2 separate regions of the Homo sapiens genome follow, and region 2 is linked to region 1. Evidence: promoter capture Hi-C in human tissues and cell types (Jung and others, 2019). All regions are on one chromosome and are shown on one strand. The core of a region is centred on a gene start or on the middle of the fragment in contact, and the rest is flanking DNA. Distances in the headings are between cores, read along the strand shown. Region 1 holds the start of CLIP1 (CAP-Gly domain containing linker protein 1). Region 2 overlaps CLIP1 (CAP-Gly domain containing linker protein 1).

What was found. The method cuts DNA at HindIII sites, captures the fragments that hold promoters and counts their contacts. A contact is called where the count stands out against the background at its distance.
Region 2: a contact is called between a fragment that was not itself captured here and the fragment with the promoter of CLIP1 in region 1, in 1 of the 25 tissues and cell types used here (liver).

The regions. Positions count from the first base shown.
Region 1 is chr12:122,420,084-122,424,831 of GRCh38, reverse strand. CLIP1 (CAP-Gly domain containing linker protein 1) reads left to right here and starts at 2,163. Exons shown (of 26, transcript NM_001247997.2): 1 at 2,163-2,311. RefSeq lists an enhancer at 888-987 and silencers at 2,097-2,446, 2,467-2,866. The HindIII fragment of the contact is 23,258 bases long and covers 1-4,748 here.
Region 2 is chr12:122,270,971-122,276,103 of GRCh38, reverse strand. CLIP1 (CAP-Gly domain containing linker protein 1) reads left to right here. Exons shown (of 26, transcript NM_001247997.2): 25 at 1,942-2,066; 26 at 3,004-4,635. The coding sequence ends at 3,229. Among named protein-coding and RNA genes, the nearest start is that of VPS33A, 7.0 kb to the right of the region's middle. The HindIII fragment of the contact is 5,788 bases long and covers 318-5,133 here.

The DNA.
Region 1 (4,748 bases), core at 914-3,413:
TTTTAAAAAATAAAAATTAATGGCCGGGCACGGTGGCTCACGTCTGTAATCCCAGCACTTTGGGAGCCCAAAGCAGGCGGATCACGAGGTCAGGAGATCGAGACCATCCTGGCTAACACGGTGAAACCCTGTCTGTACTAAAAAAATACAAAAAATTAGCCGGGCGTGGTGGCGGGCACCTGTAGTCCCAGCTACTCGGGAGGCTGAGGCAGGAGAATGGCGTGAACCCGGGAGGCAGAGCTTGCGGTGAGCCGAGATCGCACCACTGCACTCCAGCCTGGGCGACAGAGTGAGACTCCATCTCAAAAAAAAAAAAAAAAAAAAAAATTAACGCCAAGACTCCATGATGAACAAAATGATATAATTATAAATAAATAAGCAAATGATGAACATGACAATGACATAGAATAACCCATGAGAACAAGCAAATATACACACACACACACACACACATATATATACATATATATATACATGTGTATATATATATATATTTTTTGAGACAGAGTCTCCCTCCGGCACCCAGGCTGGAGTGTAGTGGCTTGAACTCTGGTCACAGCAACCTCCGCCTCCCGGGTTCAAACAATTCTCGTGTCTCAGCCTCCCGAGTAGCTGGGACTACAGGCATGCACCACCATGCCCAGTTAATTTTTGTATTTTTTGTTAGAGACGGGGTTTCACCATGTTGGCCAAGCTGGTCTTGAACTCCTGTCTGCAGGTGATCCACCCACCTGGGTCTCTCAAAGTGCTAGAATTACAGGCGTGAGCCACCACACCCAGCCCCAAAACAATATTTTTAATAAAGACAGGCTCAGCCTACTGAGTAGAGAAGAAAAGACAAGCCCATAAGTGTTCCTAGCTGAACTCCCCCATTAGAAGTGGTCTGTGCCTCATCCTATGACATCTATGATTCCACAGCTTGCTGATTACAGCTGAAGACTGTTTAGATTAGGGGGTGAGGCGCGCCTTTCAGATTAGGAATATGGATATGGGATTTCAGGAGTACCACCACCACCTGACCTTGCAGCCTGTAAATTAGGGCGATGTTGAATTAGGTAACAGCATTTCGAGGGATTTCAGACATGAATGGAGAGGAGGGGCCAGGAGACAAATTTACATAGTTCAGAACTTCGTGCATTACCAGAGCAGTTCCCTCTTCCTGCTGGTCCAGGCAGCACGGTGCTTTGAATAAAGGTCAGCTAGAGGGGTCACCCGCCGATTATTCTCTTCTACTGGCAAGGAGGAGGAAGCCCCTGCCCCCTTATCCACCACAAAATCCTGGGCTTCCCCGACAGCTGCAAATTCCTCCCTGGAGATGTAAGGCTTCTGGGGTTGCCATGGTCCATGGGAGTGAAATGCTGGCCGCCCTCTGCTACCCCAGCCCCGAGCAGGCTGTTGCAGCCTTCCCTCCTGTCCCTTTCAAAAGCTTTTAAAGGAAATCCCAGGGGGGAAGGAGGATGGGACACTAACCAGGGCTTCCGTCCAAGCAGCCAGGGCGAATAAAAGGGGCTTTTCTCAAACGAACGGAGCAAACCCTGGGATCGTTTCAAAGGATTTTTAACCCGCGGTCGTTCCCGGAGGGAAGTGGGGAGCAGATACAGTTCTTCCCAAGCTTAACCTGCTCTACAGTTCCTTTCAGCATTTTCTCCAGGGACGCCTCATCCAGGGTCTTTCCCTGGAGGGAGGCGAGGGCAGAGATGATCCTTCCCAATCCCCAACTTAACCTGCTTCGGAAGCGCCTTGCAGCCTGTTTCAAAGGATTTCTCACCCTTGTCTGGCGGGAAGGGGAGGGCAAACAAATGAATCAGCCCCAAAGAGCGGGCTGAGGTCGAGGCTGAATGGGGCTCTTGGGTGTGACTTGCAAATTCTGGGAACACTTTGCAGAAATGACGAGAAGCCCCTCGGAGCAGGCCTGTGGGTTTTCCCTCGCACCTTGCTCCCCAAGCCGGGGCTCGGGAGGGTTCGAGGGCGGAGCGGCGGGCGCGCCGGGGCCAGGGTCCTCCCGGGGCCGCGGTGGGCGCAGACAAAGAGGCGGCGGGGCGGCGCGGGGCCGGGCGCGGGCCGCAGGGCCGGTGCGGACTCGAGGGGCCGGGCCGGCCGGGCCGGCCGGGCGGGCGCGGCGGCGGAGCGCTGGGAGGAGCCGCGCGGCGTCTTCTCCTGGCAGCGCGCGCCCGCCCGGCCCCGCGGCGGCGGCGGCGCGTCACGCTCTCCCCCGCCCCGAGCCGACGAGCCGGGAGGCGGGAGGCGGCGGCCGCGGCGGCTGCTGCTGCTGCAGTGGGACAGGTGGCGGCGACCGGCGGCGTCCGAGGAGGTGAGCAGGGGGCGGCGCGGGCCCTCTCCCTTTCCCGGCACCCCCTGCTCCCCTGCCGGCTTCCCGGCCTGCGGGGCCCGCCCAGGGTCGGGTCGGGGGTCGAAGCCCGGCGTCCGGGAGCGGGGCCGAGCCTCGCGCGCCGGAGCCGTCCGGGAGGGGACCGCGGGAGTCTCGGGTGGCCGGCGCCGGAGGCCGGGGGTCCCTGGGGGGCTCCTCCGGAGCTGGAAAAGTGGCGGCCCTGTCAGCGCCGAGCCGGGCCTTCGCTTCCTCCGCCCGCCTCAAGATGGAGCTTGGACTCCTTGCCCCTGCGCCGCCCCAGGCGCCGCTCTCTCCCTGGCGCCCCGCTCCCTCTCCTGGGCCCCGGGGCGGATGTGGGATCGGCCGGACCCCGGGAGGCCGAAGCCGGGCGGGACCTGTTGCCCCGGGCGCCGCGCCTGTCACCTGAGCATTCCTCAGGCCCCGGGTGCCCGGCGCCCGCGATCCGGCATGGAGGGCACCCTGGCCCGGCCTCCCCCGCTGCCCCGGCTTTTGTTTTCCTCTCAAGTGGGGCTGTGATTCTCGGAGACCGGGGAAGGCTGGAGGTGGCCAGATCGCTCTCGGGTTTCCGAAATCACACCGCTGCCCGGTAATCCGAACCTTCTACCGCGGCAGGGGATTGGCGCGGAAGGCAGATGACACTTGTTCAGAGGTTATTTTACAAGCAGAACCTAGCGATTGCCCGAATTGGAAGGTCCTGCCTTTCAAAAATCGGGTTTTGATTCGGGGGTGAATCCTGAATCCGGCTGTTTCTCCACTTCATGTGGCTTTTCCATCTGGCAGGAGCCGAGCGCCACCCCCTCCTCCCTGCACAGCCCCACCTCTTTGGTATGAAGAAATTACACGTTGTCCGTCATCGGTTTAGATACCTGTTTTTAGCAAAACTTGGGCGCCAGTGAACTGTTTTTTAAAACAAAGGGTGGAGAAGATTCTGTAATTGTGTGTGTGTGATTCAGCAGCCTGGCCTTCTTCCTCTTTTAGGACAGTGGCCCCTAGCAGCTCTATAAGTATTAAGTGCTGTGGCCACTGCTGTCATTAGGGTTATGATTCTGGCTGTTCTTATTATTTGATTTGTGTCACTACTGTTAGCGATGGTATCCACGAATCAGGAGAGTATCCCAGAGTCAGGAATGTGTTTGTTTGACTTTTAGATTTAATGATAACCTTTAGCAAGAATCCCCAGGCATGTCGCTTCTCAGACTTGGGGCCTTTTTTTCTCTGTAAATTATAACAATGAACATTTATTGAAGGCATCTTGTGGCCAGGCTCTGGGCTAGCTTTTTATGTGTTTTATTTCATTTAATCAACCCTAACCCAGTGAGCGTGCTGTCGTCATGTGCATTCGGCAGGAGGGTCATAGAAAGGTCAAGTAACTTGACCAGGGTTATACAGCTAAGCACCTGAAGTCAGAATACCTTTTACCAGCATGTGAACTCAGGTATTCTGACTTCAGGTGCTTAGTTATTCGATTAGTATAGGGAATCTGTGGCAAAAAGCAAGGCTAGTCTGTCTGTCTGTCTATCCATCCATCAATCAATCAATCAATCAATGAGAGGGAGCCTCAATCTGTCCCCCCGGCCAGAGTGCAGTGGCGTGATCTCAGCTCACTGCAATCTCGGCCTCCCAGGTTTAAGCGATTCTCGTGCCTCAGCCTCCTGAGTACTGGAATTACAGGTGCCCGCCACCACGCCCGGCTAATTTTTGTATCTGTGGTAGAGATGGGGTTTCACCACGTTGCCCAGGCTGATTTCGAACTCCTGGGCTCAAGTCATCCACCTGCTTTGGGCTCCCAAAGTGCTGGGATTACAGGTGTGAACTACCGCACCTGGCCCCAAGGCTGGTCTACATTAAAGCAAAGTTGAAGTGGGTAATTGCTTGGCCAAAGGCTTGTGCCCGATTTTTAAGGTTCAGAGAAAGCAGTTAAGTACATCTTCCCACTAGACCTAGTTCAAAGGGGAAAACTGAAACCGGGTGGGACCCTGGGTAGGTATTTTGCCTGAAGATCAAGATTTTGCCCTTCCCTATTTTTTCAATCATTGCTTCAGCTCCAGCTTGCACTTCAGCATGACATAAGCTAATCTGGTTTCTGTCCTATTGAGGAGTTTAGAATCTGATATCCTTATCTCTTTTTTTTTTTTTGACATGGAATTTCACTCTTGTTGCCTAGGCTGGAGTGCAATGGAGTGATCTCGGCTCACTGCAACCTCTGCCTACTGGGTTCAAGCGATTCTCCTGCCTCAGCTTCCCGAGTAGCTGGGATTTTAGGTGCCTGCCACCATGCCTGGCTAATTTTTTGTATTTTTTTAGTAGAGATGGAGTTTCATCACGTTGGCCAGCCAGGCTGATCACACCTGACCTCAGGTGATCCGCCTGCCTCAGCCTCCCAAAGTGCTGGGATTAT
Region 2 (5,133 bases), core at 1,962-4,461, 150 kb after region 1:
AATATTGTAAAGTGGGATCTTTCAGTTTAGAGAAATGAGACTTTTCATTATTTGTAGAAGGAAGAAATTTTTTGTTTTTAAGTCAAAATGCCCTTTGATTGAAAGGAAATGTTCAGGATAAGAGCGGTCCCTCCTGTTGGCCATCTTGTTGTCCCCACTGCCCCAGCTCTTGGCATGGGCACTCTCCCTCTGGGTGGTACCTGAACACCGCCTTGTTGGCGTGCCTGGCTGTCTCTCCTAGGTTGGGAGGGAGCTTTAGCCTTCTCCATTTTCCCTGAGGACATGTTTACTTATTGCTCCACCATTATCAGTCAGTTGATAAATGAGAGTCTGAAGGAAATTTCCATGTGACTTTTTCAAATCTGCCGAACAGAAAAGTCCTGGATGGATTGTAGAGTTTAATGGAAGAACTAACCTTTTTATGCATTTTGTGTGTGTGTGTGTGTGTGTGTGTGTGTGCGCGTGTGTGTGTGTGTGTATTTTTTTCTTTTTTGAGATGGAGTCTTGCTCTGTTGCCCAGGCTGGACTGCAGTGGCGTAGTCATGGCTCACTGCAACGTCCGCCTCCTGGGTTCAAGCGAGTTTCCAGCCTCAGCCTCCTGAGTAGCTGGGACTACAGGCGTAAGCCACCACACCCAGCTAATTTTTGTATTTTTACTAGAGACAGGGTATCACTATGTTGGCCAGGTTGGTCTTGAACTCCTGACCTCAGATGATCCGCCTGCCTCTGTCTCCCAAAGTGTTGGGATTACAGGCGTGAGCCACCACGCCTGGCCAATATTTTTTATGTGGTAGAATGAAAACAAACTTGTGCCCATATATTCAGAAATATAAGATTATGACTTCTGGAGAATGCAAGATTTTTTTCTCCTATTTAAAAAAATGTTTCTTATATTTTTTCATGAATCAATAGCACTCCACCAACCCACAGATTTAGATGTTTAGGAATAATTTCAGCTGGGTACAGTGGCTCATGCCTGTAATCCCAACACTTTGGGAGGCCGAGGCAGGCGGATCACGAGGTCAGGAGTTTGAGTCCATCCTGGACAATATGATGAAACCCCGTCTCTATTAAAAATACAAAAATTAGCTGGGTTTGGTGGCACGTGCCTATAGTCCCAGCTACTCGGGAGGCTGAGGCAGGAGAATCACTTGAACCCGGGAGGCAGAGGTCGCAGTGAGCCGAGATCGAGCCACTGCACTCCAGCCTGGGCAACAGAGCAAGACTCCATCTCATAAATAAATAAAATAATTAATTAATTCATGGCCTGGCACCGTGGCTCACACATGTATTCCCAGCACTTTGGGAGGCCAAGCCGGGTGGATCACCTGAGGTCAGGAGTTTGAGACCATCCTGGCCAACATGGCAAAACCCCGTCTCTACTAAAAATACAAAAATCAGCCAGGCATGGTGGTGCATGCCTGTAATCCCAGCTATTCAGGAGGCTGAGACAGTAGAATTGCTTGAACCCAGGAGACAGAGGCTGCAGTGAGCCGAGATCCTGCCACTGCACTCCAGCCTGGGCGACAGAGCGAGACTCCGTCTCAAAAAAAAAAAAAAAACAAAACAAAACAAATGAAGTTTACCCATGTTATACCTAGAAACATTCAATGAAGTGTAATTTAAATTTTTTTTTAAAATATAAAATAGCATCTCCTCAGTAATGAACATTTGAAGAAATCTGAAAGGTGTGAGGGGGTAAAAGAAACTGCCATAGCCTTACCACCTAGACATGGCCTCATTTAAGTTCAGCTCTTTACTCACACAATCTCAGCATGCCTGTCCTCCGGGAGAGTGAAAAGCATGGGTTCCTAATAGCCGCTGTTGGCCCCTTCTGCACACTTTGCCGCCAGAGCTTAAAGGTATAAACTTCATGACTTCTTGATGCTCCAGCTTATATATATTCTTGACATTTTACACATTTTTTTTTTAACAAATCAGATTGATTTCCTAAATTCAGTAATAGTGGACCTTCAAAGGAAGAATCAAGACCTCAAGATGAAGGTGGAGATGATGTCAGAAGCAGCCCTGAATGGGAACGGGGATGACCTAAACAATTATGACAGGTATTTCATATGAAGACATACTGATTGCTATAATCCCAGCACTTTGGGAGGCCGAGGCGGGCGGACCACTTGAGGGTCAGGAGTTCGAGACCAGCCTGGCCAACACGATGAAACCTCGTCTCTACTAAAAATACAAAAGTTAGCCAGGCGTAGTGTTGCATGCCTGTAATCCCAGCTACTTGGGAGGCTGAGGCAGGAGAACTACTTGAGCCTTGGAGCTGGAGGTTGCAATGAGCCGAGATTGCGCCACTGTACTCCAACCTGGGTGACAGAGCAAGACCCTGTCTCAAAAAAAACCATACTGATTGGAACCTTAGTTTCATCAAAATAAATATGTTTTTAAAGTGAGCTTCTCTAGGGGATTGTAAAAAGACGCAACAAAAAAAAACAAATGTTTTGTGGTTCCTTTGCCATAAATAGATTTCCATAAATCTGGCAAGTGAGTGAGAGGAGACTACAAATGCTTTGACATGAAGATTTTAAATGTGAGGCTGGCGTGGTGGCCACGACTGTAATCCCAGCACTTTGGGAGGCCGAGGTGGGCAGATCACCTGGGGTCAGGAGTTCAAGACCAACTTGGCTAACTTGGCAAAACCCCATCTCTACTGAAAATACAAAAAAGTAACTGTGTGGGGTGGCACGCACCTGTAATTCCAGCTACTTGGGAGGCTGAGGCAGGAGAATTGCTTTCACCTAGGAGGTGGAGATTGCAGTAAGCCAAGATCATGCCACTGCACTCCAGCCTGGGTGAGAGTCTGAGACTCCATCTCAAAAATAAAAAAAATACTTTAAATGTGGGATAATGCACTACTTATACTGGAAGCTCACAGACTTGGCCATAATTAGTTCTTGCTTAATTTTTAAATTTTTTGCAAGTGTTCTTGTCTCTTCAGTTTCTTCTGATAAATTTTCTGATTTCACACATTAACATTTGTAGTGATGATCAGGAGAAACAGTCCAAGAAGAAACCTCGCCTCTTCTGTGACATTTGTGACTGCTTTGATCTCCACGACACAGAGGATTGTCCTACCCAGGCACAGATGTCAGAGGACCCTCCCCATTCCACACACCATGGCAGTCGGGGTGAGGAACGCCCATACTGTGAAATCTGTGAGATGTTTGGACACTGGGCCACCAACTGCAATGACGACGAAACCTTCTGATGAAGCCTCCAGTGGAGAACTGGGCTTGCTCAGACGCACTCGCATTGACACAACGTAACACCAGCATTGTGTGTGCAGACTTCAGGAGAACTCATGTTATTTTTTAACCCCGTCAACAAATCTAGGAAAATATTTTGATCTTCAACAAATTGCCCTTTAGTCTCCCCGTATGAGTTAGAATAATAAATATTTAGTAGGTGAGTTTTCACCTCGAATTTTGTTTTCTTGATTTTTACGTTTGAAGACATTGCACCAGATGCCATTACATTTATTGGCCCCCCGACCTTGTAGAAAAACCCCTACCCTCACAATACCTTATTTAAGTAACTTTAAATTATGCCGTTACTTTTCATATTTGCACTAAGATATTTCCAGGCTGCATTTGTATATTTAGATTTTTTGGTTAAGCTTTGACACTGGAATGAGTTGAAAAAATGTGCCATTTTGCATTTTCATCTACTCATTTAAAGTATTTTATTCTTATTCAAAGAAATATCTGAGCTCTTTGCACTACCTGTTATCAGTAGTGCCTTTACTTCAGGCTTGATAATACTTAGGTGTGATTATAAAATCATGAAGCAGGTAAAGGGAGGGGCAAGCCCCCAAACTGCTGTGGGGACATTTTATAATCTATATGCTGCACCCACTTAATCTACTGTGGTGTTTTGTTTATTAGTTTTGCATAATTTCAGCTTCTATATATTGTATGTATATATTTTTTAAAAATCTATATTTTGGGAAAAAAACATACACAATGTGTCTTTCTTTTTGGACATTTACCTTTTTGAAAAAGAAAACACTTAAAATGATCATTAGGACATAACAGACTAGGCCAGACATAGCATCTTGTGGCTTTGCAACCATTTTCATTTGTTTGTTTTCCTTTTATTTCTTCACCAGATTTAAATAACTGGAGGAATTTTCTCCAATTTTTTTTTCCTTCTCTGGCAGGTATCCCCAGCAGTCAATTAACAATAAGCCAGTATAAAACACCTAAATAACCAATCTACAATCTCCCTTCACAAGTTTTTTTACTGTTTTTAGATGAATGTACGATGAGAAATTCAACGTTAATAATTCTGGATTTTCTTATCACAAAAAAGAAAATGAAGGACCTCAAAGCACCTGAACAGTTTATCGACCAGTTTGAATCTATTTATCTTCATTTGAATGTCTTCTAGAATATGTAAAAAGTCATAAAATGTATCTTCCATGCTACATGTACAATAAGAACTTCTATAATTGTATATATGCCTTTGATGTATTTTCCCCTCAAGATTATCAACTGTGTGTTCGACAGTGAATATTCAATCTGGTACCAGTTGAAATTTTTGGTTATAAATGTAATACGAATTGTTTCACAAACAGAAAACATGTAAAGCAGTATTAAAATTTGGCCAAACAAGTGTTCTGTATCTACTTTAATAAATGGTTATTCTTTTTTGTTTTGTGGGTTTTGTTTTGTTTGAGACAGGGTCTCACTCTGTTGCCCAGGCTGGAATACAGTGGCACAATCATGGATTGCTGCAGCCTCCAACTCCTGAGCTCAAGCAATCCTCTCACCTCAGCCTCCAAAGCAGCTAGGACTACAGGCAAGTGCCACCACACCTGGCCAATTTTTTTTTTTTTTTTTTTTTTTTTGAGACGGAGTCTCACTCTGTCGCCCAGGCTGGGTGCAGTGGTGTGATCTCGGCTCACTGCAAGCTCCACCTCCTGGGTTCACGCCATTCTCCTGCCTCAGCCTCCCGAGTAGCTGAGACTATAGGCATCCGCCACCATGCCCAGCTAGTTTTTTGTATTTTTAGTAGAGACAGGGTTTCACCGTGTTAGCCAGGATGGCCTCGATCTCCTGACCTCGTGATCCGCCTGCCTCGGCCACCCAAAGTGCTGGGATTACAACACCT